Regions from separate parts of the Homo sapiens genome. Here all the other regions are linked to region 2. The links are contacts of gene promoters, found by promoter capture Hi-C in human tissues and cell types (Jung and others, 2019). All regions are on one chromosome and are shown on one strand. Each heading gives the region's core, a stretch centred on a gene start or on the middle of the fragment in contact. The rest is flanking DNA. Distances are from core to core; before and after follow the strand shown. Region 1 has its middle 8.0 kb from the start of PHOX2A. Region 2 holds the start of PDE2A (phosphodiesterase 2A). Region 3 overlaps FCHSD2 (FCH and double SH3 domains 2).

Region 1 (2,700 bases), core at 78-2,577, 420 kb before region 2:
TGCAGGCCACAGTGCTCGACCGCCTCAGTCCTCTGCACCGTTACCCAGAACTGGGATCCTTCCCAGGTGGGGCTGCACAAGGAGTTCTCCAGCATCTCCAGGGCAGAAAGCTCAGGTGGGTTATTGGTAGGTTCCAGAGTCCAGCTGCCTTTCCGAAGGGGGTTTTGGCACAGCGTCTGCAACCAGGCTGCACTGGACGGCACATCAACAGCCAGCAGGTGCTAGTGCTGTGCAGTGTCCAGGCGGAAGGCAGTGGCGCTGGGCTCAGGGAGGCTCTCCACGGCCACGGGGACCAAACTCACACACTTCGCCAGATGGATCACCTTGCAGTCCAGGCAGCACGAGCTCCCTCGGCCACTCCCAGAGCTCGACCCCTTATGGTCAAAGAACTTGAGCCGCGCTAGCCATGGGGACTGGCCGGGTAGAGCATGGCCCAGGTCTTCCTCCACCTCTTGGTCCCAAAGTGCTGACTCTGCGAAAAGAGCGGCCCTTCTGTCATAGCTCCGTCCATGGCCCCCAGCGGTTGCTTCCCCCCTTCTCCCTCTTATCAAGTGACTGAGTACTGTGGCACTGATAGATCCACACCAGACTCTGGCCAGGCTCCCTCTGATCTGTTACTCCTGAAACTTGCATATATAACCCAGACACGATGCACCACAGCATCACCTTTACCTGAAAGATTCAGAAGGCATCAGGGCCCTGCAGAGTTACCCAGCGTGATGGCTTCATTTTTGCAGATGAAGAGACCAAGGCCCAGCGAGGGATCCTATAGAAAGAGTAAAAGTAAAGCCAATGAGCATGTGTCAGAGGAGGAGTCCCCCACAGAAGGAGTGGCAGGTAAAAGGATCCTTGTGGACAGATATAGTGGGGACTGCTCTGGATCTTCTGCTTCGTTCCCTGCTCTGACATTAACTTAGTCTGTGAGCTCAGGCAGTGGAAGCGGTTGAGGAAGGACCCGTGCCCTGGAGAACTCTTTTTGCCAGTGATCATTTGGAGAGTGGTATCCTGGGGATTCCCAGGTGTCACCACTTTATTCTCACTTCTGCCAGAAACACTGATCTTAGCCTCCCCTCAGAAATCTGAGCAAGAATGTCCTGGGCTCAGAGTGTGGCCACTATGCTGGCTTCTTACTCCAGTGCACTCCTGCCAGCCCTCCTCTCCTCTGGGGGAGCACACGGAGCCACAGCTCCTCCCTAGCATCGAAATGCATCTTTGTACCCTCCAAAGTGATGTCTTCAGTGTCATCGTTATTCAATTATGCTCAGAAGCTGAGCTTGATCAGACATCCAATATAACTTCCATCAAGTAATGAAACTTCTTTTTTTTTTTTTGAGACGGAGTCTCGCTCTGTCACCCAGGCTGGAGTGCAGTGGCACAATCTCGGCTCACTGCAACCTCCGCCTGCTGGGCTCGAGCGATTCTCCTGCCTCAGCCTCCCGAGTAGCTGGAATTACAGGCACGTGCCATCGTGCCTAGCTAATTTTTGTATTTTTAGTAGAGACGGGGGTTTCACCATGTTGCCCAGGCTGGTCTTGAACTCCTGACCTCAGGTGATCCACCCGCCTCGGCCTCCCAAAGTGCTGTGATTACAGGCGTGAGCCACCGTGCTGGCGGGATGCTTTCTTTAAGGATTTCCCAGTCTGGTGGGCACATGGAAACTTACCTGGGGAGAGGGGGGATTTCTCTTTAGAATGTCTTAGTTGTTTTTGTAAGACAATGGTACAGAGAAGTCTTGTTGCTTCCTTTAAAAAGGGGAAAGAAAAAACAAAGTTTGACCCTACCAACGTTGCTATGCTCTGACAAGCTTATCCAGGTGATATGGTTTGGCTGTGTCCCTACCCAAATCTCATCTTGAATTATAGCTCCCATAATTCCCACGTGTTGTGGGAGAGACCCGATGGGAAGTAATTGAATCATGGGGACGAGTATTTCCTGTGCTGTTCTTGTGGTAGTGAATAAGTCTCACGAGATCTGATGGTTTTATAAATAGGAGTTCCCCGGCGCAAGCGCTCCTGTCTGCCGCAATGTAAGACGTGGTTTTGCTGCTCATTTGCCTTCCGCCATGACTGTGAGGACTCTCCAGCTATGTGGAACGGTGAGTACATTAAACCTCTTTCCTGGCCGAGTGCGGTGGCTCATGCCTGTAATCCCAGCACTTTGGGAGGCCGAAGTGGGTGGATCACCTAAGGTCAGGAGTTCCAGACCAGCCTGGCCAACATGGTGAAACCCCGTCTCTACTAAATATAAAAAAAATTAGCCGGGCATGGAGGTGCCACGCCTGTAGTCCCGGCTACTCGGAAGCCTGAGGCAGGAGAATCGCTGGAACCTAGGAGGCGAAGGTTGCAGTGAGCCGAGATCATGCCACTGCACCCCAGCCTGGGCGACAGAGTAAGACCCCATCTCAGAAGAAAAAAAAAAAAAGGTTCTTTCCTTTAAATTATCCAGTCTCGGATATGTCTTTATCAGTAGTGTGAGAACAGACTAATACACCAAGTTATTGTGCATGGGAAGGAACCTGCCAATGGGCTGCCATAATGAACAATTATGGAGTGGTCATCCAGCACCATTCTTCCCTCTTGGGAACTGTCATATCCATCTAGATGGCTACCCAGGGACCATTGCTTTTACATAATCCTTCCCTCAGTCATAATTGGTCCAGGTGTGGACCCTTTTCAAAGATGGGTCAATAAAACCTTTCCT
Region 2 (2,700 bases), core at 44-2,543:
CATAAATGCACATGGAACAGATAAAAAATGCACACTGATTCACTCTATTTTGCAGACACAACACACATAATATACAAACTCAACCTAATAGACACACCTACATACATATGCAGACCAACCTGCACTCACACTCAGACACATGCGAATAAACTCTCACTCACACAGGGATGATCACAAACTCTGACAGGCTGCTTTACATCCAACCACCAAGGACCCTAGAGCTCTACAGGCCCCTCTACACCCAACATGTCCCTTACATTCCACATGTATACACACACACACACACACACATACCCTGCCTACCACCTCGGCAGCCCTTAGTAGAGGGGTGTCGCCACGGCGCCCCCCACTCACTTGCACATGCACCCCCCTGCACGTGGACACACACGAGGCTGGCACCATATTCCATCTGGCTCCGTAGAACCCTATCCTGGGACAGACGCTTTGGGGTAAAGTTTCATAAAGTGGTGTCCCTGAACCCCAATTCCCAATTCCATGGAAGGTGGTTACCTCTAACCCTCTCTTGCTCCAGGGCCACTCTTATTCATATTTTCTCCATCTTTCCCCCTCCCCACCTCCTTCACACACACATAGCCTTGGTGGGCCAAGACACTCTCCCTCTCCGGGTCCTGAACCAGCCTATTGCAGCCCCGAGAGCTCCTCCCAACTACTTGGCAGACCTCCCCCTCCCCACATACACCCTCAGCCCTTGAAGAACCGGTTCAGGTTCATTATCAGCCCCTCCTCCAACCAGCAGCCCCTTCCATGGGACCCCAGCCTCATCACCTACTAGGTTGACGTTAGACACCCTCATTCTGCTCAGAGGTAACCTGCCCCCACCCCAGGCTGCAGTCTGGCAACGCGGGGAGGAGGGGTGCCCAGGAACAGGATCGATCCTTCCACGTGGCTCAGCTCCATGCCAACCCCAGCTCCTTGGAGGGACTCCCAGGACCCTGTCTGTGGCACCTCTCACAGCCGCTCACCACCCCAGCCCCTCACTATACTCACGGCTCAGCCGGTCGCGCTGCCGGGTACTGCTGGCTCCTGCAGAGGATGGAGTGGCCGCATGCCTGCCCCATCACTCCTCATCGTCCGCCTCCCCAGCCAGACTAAGGTGGCACCTCGCCCTGTCCCCGCTGCCTGGAGTTCAGGGCAGGGCACCCCCAGCAGGCACAGGGACCAAGAGCAGTGGGCTGCCCCCTACTCAGCCTGGACTCAACACCCCAATCCAGCTCTGCTGCCCCGCTGCTCCCGCCTCTCCCGCTGCCACTGCCTCTGCTGCTCGGCTGGCTCTGGGAGGAGGTTGGAGCAGGTCTGATAATGCAGAAGGGGGAGGGAGGAGGGAGGAGGAACAGAGAGAGGCCCAGACAGAGAGGGAGAGAGGGAGAGAGGGAGGGGTAGAGAGAGAGTCTGACTGGGAGAGAGGAAAAAAGACTCACAGACAGAGAGACTGAGAGATAAACAGAGACAGGAAGGGGGACAGTAACACATGAAGAGGGAGAGGAGAGAGGGATCAGAGCCTTAGCGAGATCAAGATGGAAGTACAAAGAGACCAGAGAGGCATAGAGAAACACACACACAGAGGAACAAAGGCAGAAAAGGAAAAAAAATCAGAGGCAGAAATAGAAAGAGAGTGGGGTAGGGGGAAAGGGGAGTGGCTGACAGAGGAGAGAGGGGAGAGGACGAGGGATTTACAATCCTCATGGGCTAGGATGGGGCTGGGGACTTGAGGGGCAGCAGACCCAGACCCTCTGCTGCCCCATCGCAGAAGCCTTCAGGATGAGGGGACACGCTTGTGCCCTCAAGTCTGAGAGATCAGGCCTCCATGCACAGCTAGCTGCCCTCTCCTCTGGGCTCCCTCACCCGGTGTGTATCATCTCCTAGCGTGCATCCCAGCCTGGAGCTGGGTCCACGGAAGACTTAGGGGGCTTTACTGATGGCCTTTGGACTCAGAGCCTTGTCACAGGGCCCACCTCTTGGTGGCTTGGTTTAGCTGGGACTTGGAGCTGATGCGTGAGCATGGACTTCTACCAGGATCTGTGGAGACCTAGGCCACAGCCTGCCCCACATGGCCTTCGCTGCTCACAGACTACAGGCATGGGGGAAGGCCTGTTGCACCCCCACCCTGCTTCCAAAGAGGACTCCCTAGGATAAAGCTATAACCTAGTGAAATAGAGGCATTTTAGGCCCTAGGACAGATAGAGAGTTGTCACAGCAGAGCTACTATTGTATGCAGGAGAAACAGCTCCACACCTTGAGGCAGGAAATGGGGATTTGGATCCTGGCTTCACCATTAACTTACTTATTCATTGGCCTACCAGTGGCTGAGCTCATGGCTCACACTATCCCTTGTCTCAGAGAAGCACTCGGGCTGGGGAGTGGGGAGGGGAGACTTGCAGGCTGTGACAGAAAGAAGCACAGGGTCTGTGAAGCCCAGAGGGACCCCTGACCTAGTTTGGGTGGTGGGGGGGCGGTTAGCAAGCATTTCTGGAAGAGAGGGTCCAAGCTGGGTCTTTTAAGGCAGAAGAGGGTATATTCCAGGGTAGAGGAGCTACAGCAAACCCTCCACAGCAACCCCATCTCTCTGAGCTGTGGGGAGAATACCTCCCCGCCACACAACAGGCTTCAAGCAGAGAAGTCCCTGAGGCTGAATAGAAACCTGACCCATGTTGAAGAACATGGGGGTGCACGGTGGAGGGG
Region 3 (2,700 bases), core at 193-2,692, 440 kb after region 2:
TAAAATAAGTATTATCTGACTTGATAAAACTTAATTGCAAAAATGTCTTTTCTGGGCCTAGTGCATTATCAAAAGTCATAATTCCTTCTTTCGTTTTTGTTTTTTTTTCTTTGAGATGGGGTCCCACTACTCTGCCACCCATGCTGGAGTGCAGTTGTGTGGTCATAACTCACTAAAGCCTTTAAATCCTGGGCACAAGCTCCCGCGTCAGCCTCCCAAGTAGCGGGGACTACAGGCATACACCACCATGCCCAGCTAATTGCTTTTTATTTTTATTAGGGACAGGATCTCGCCATGTTGCCCAGGCTAGTCTCGAACTCCTGGCCTCAAGCAATCTCCCAACTTGGCCTCTCAAAGTGCACGGATTACAGGCATGAGCCACAGCGCCTGGCCCATATCTCTTTTTTTAGTTATGAACTCAAATTGTTTCATGGTCAATTCAAGTTCCTCTTTATTCTTCGGTAAGAGTAATTATATTTTTTCATGTAAAACCTTTCCATTTTTCCCCAAAAAAAATCACTATTGTTATATCTCTGTTTCATTTTTAGCATATTGATTTTTATTACTCCTTTTTCCTGAGTTTTCTGTATCATATTGGTCTTTTCAAAAAACTAGCTGTTGGCCTATTGATTATACGTATTTTTGTTTTCCATTCATCTTTCTACTTATCAATAACAGAAGCTGGTATTTATAAGCTGGTACTTATAACAAATACATTCTACATGTACTAACATATTAACTTATTCAATCTTCACAAACCTATGAATTTGATTCTATTATTATCTTCATTTTGTAGATAAGGAAGCTAAGAAGACACAGACGGGTTAAGTAACCAAGTTTGGACAAGCAGGAAGTGGAGAACTAAGAATTCACAATCAGGCAATCTGGTTCAAGAGTCCACACTCTTAAATACTACATAATAATGCATGATTTATATTTTATTATTTTTCCATCCTATTAGGCTTTTAGGCATATTTTGGGTTTTTTCCTAATTTATTGAGATGAACCCACTACCTTTCAATCTGTCCTATTTTCTAACAAATTCATTAAGAGCTATAAATTTCCTTTTGAATCATACCCTACAAGTTTGTTTATATAGGGCATTCATTTTCATTGTGTGGTATTTAGTAATTCTCATTATAATTTCTACTTTAACTCAGTTAGTAGTGGTTTTGTTTGTTTTTAGTTTGCAAGCACAAGTAGGGGAATGGGAAGAAAGCTTCAACAGATTATTGCAAAATTTTTCAATCACATTGTAAAGAATTTTACAGCTAACATCCATATAGCCGCCATTAGATTCTGCCACAAAATTCTATTAGACTTGCTTTATCACATATCTATCCATTTATCCATCTCCCTAGCCATTAATTAATCCACCTTATTTTTGGTGTCTTTAAAGCAAATTGTAGACAATAATACTCTTCCCTCTAAATATTTCAGCATGCTTAGTGTTAACCAGCATCCAATATTTGCTTATCTTTTTATGTAAAACTACTTAAAATCATATGCACACATATTATATATACATTTTCTGAGTTTTGACAAATGTACATACCTATGAAACCCAAATCCCTATCAAGACATAGAATGGGGCCAGGCCCAGTGGCTCACACCTGTAATCCCAGCACTTTGGGAGGCCAAGGTGGGCAGATCACTGGAGGTCACGCATTCCCGAGACCAGCCTGGCCAACATGGTAACACCCCATCTCTACTAAAAATATAAAAATTAGTAGGGTATGGTGGCAGGTGCATATAATCCCAGCAACTTGGGAGGCTGAGGCAGGAAAATTGCTTGGACTCAGCAGGCAGAGACTGCGGTGAGCCGAGACTGTGCCACTGCACTCCAGCCTGGGTGACAGAGCAAGACTCCATCTCAAAAAAACAAAAACAAAAACAAAGGACACAGAATGGCACTATCATCCCAAAAAGTTTCCTCATGCCCCATCTTAGTCAATTCCTACCCTTAAACACCAGAGGAAACCACTGTACTGACTTCTCCACCACCACAAATTAGTTCTGCCTGTTTTAGAACTTTTCAGTATATAATTCTGGAGTATAGTATACAGTATATATTCTTGTATCTGAATTCTTTCACTAAGAATGTTTCTGAGATTCACCCACATTGATGTGTGTATCCATAATTCACTCATTTTTATTGCTGAATGGTATATTTGGAGGTTTTTCTTTTTGGTGTAAGGAAGAGGATGTTTATCTCTTCATTACTGATTTCTATTTTCATTGCATGTGATCAGAGAATATGATGATACTATAATGATGATGGCAAACACTAACTGAGCCCTTACCACGTGTAATGCATTGTTCTGAATGCCAGCCCTCACAACTCTGAGAGACCACTATTACCATTTCTGTTTTACAGATGAGAAAATTGAAGCACATAAGTAACTTACCCAAGGTCATACAACTAGGGGAAAACCACATTTGGTTCCTGAGCCCTCTCTTAGACACATACTACACAACATGTATGATATCAATTCCACAGAATTATTTGAGACTCTTTTTATGGGCTAATAAATAAATAATTAATTTTTGTTTGAAAAGAATGCATATTCTCTAAAGGCCAGGCGCGGTGACTCACGTCTGTAATCCTACCACTTTGGGAGGCCAAGGCAGATGGATAGCTCAAGCTTGGGAGTTCGGGGCTATCCTGGGCAACATGATGAGATCCTGTCTCTACATAAA

The links. The method cuts DNA at HindIII sites, captures the fragments that hold promoters and counts their contacts. A contact is called where the count stands out against the background at its distance.
Region 1: a fragment that was not itself captured here is called in contact with the fragment with the promoter of PDE2A in region 2 in 2 of the 25 tissues and cell types used here (adrenal gland and lymphoblastoid cells).
Region 3: a contact is called between a fragment that was not itself captured here and the fragment with the promoter of PDE2A in region 2, in 1 of the 25 tissues and cell types used here (spleen).

Annotation. Positions count from the first base shown.
Region 1 is chr11:72,250,778-72,253,477 of GRCh38, forward strand. It overlaps the pseudogene LOC220077. Among named protein-coding and RNA genes, the nearest start is that of PHOX2A, 8.0 kb to the left of the region's middle. The HindIII fragment of the contact is 7,877 bases long and covers 1-2,700 here.
Region 2 is chr11:72,673,129-72,675,828 of GRCh38, forward strand. PDE2A (phosphodiesterase 2A) reads right to left here and starts at 1,294. Exons shown (of 31, transcript NM_002599.5): 1 at 1,009-1,294. The coding sequence starts at 1,079. RefSeq lists enhancers at 1-489, 490-1,115, 1,116-1,742, 1,743-2,367, 2,518-2,700. The HindIII fragment of the contact is 13,863 bases long and covers 1-2,700 here.
Region 3 is chr11:73,116,444-73,119,143 of GRCh38, forward strand. All of the region lies in intron 2 of FCHSD2 (FCH and double SH3 domains 2), which reads right to left. Among named protein-coding and RNA genes, the nearest start is that of FCHSD2, 25 kb to the right of the region's middle. The HindIII fragment of the contact is 4,925 bases long and covers 1-2,700 here.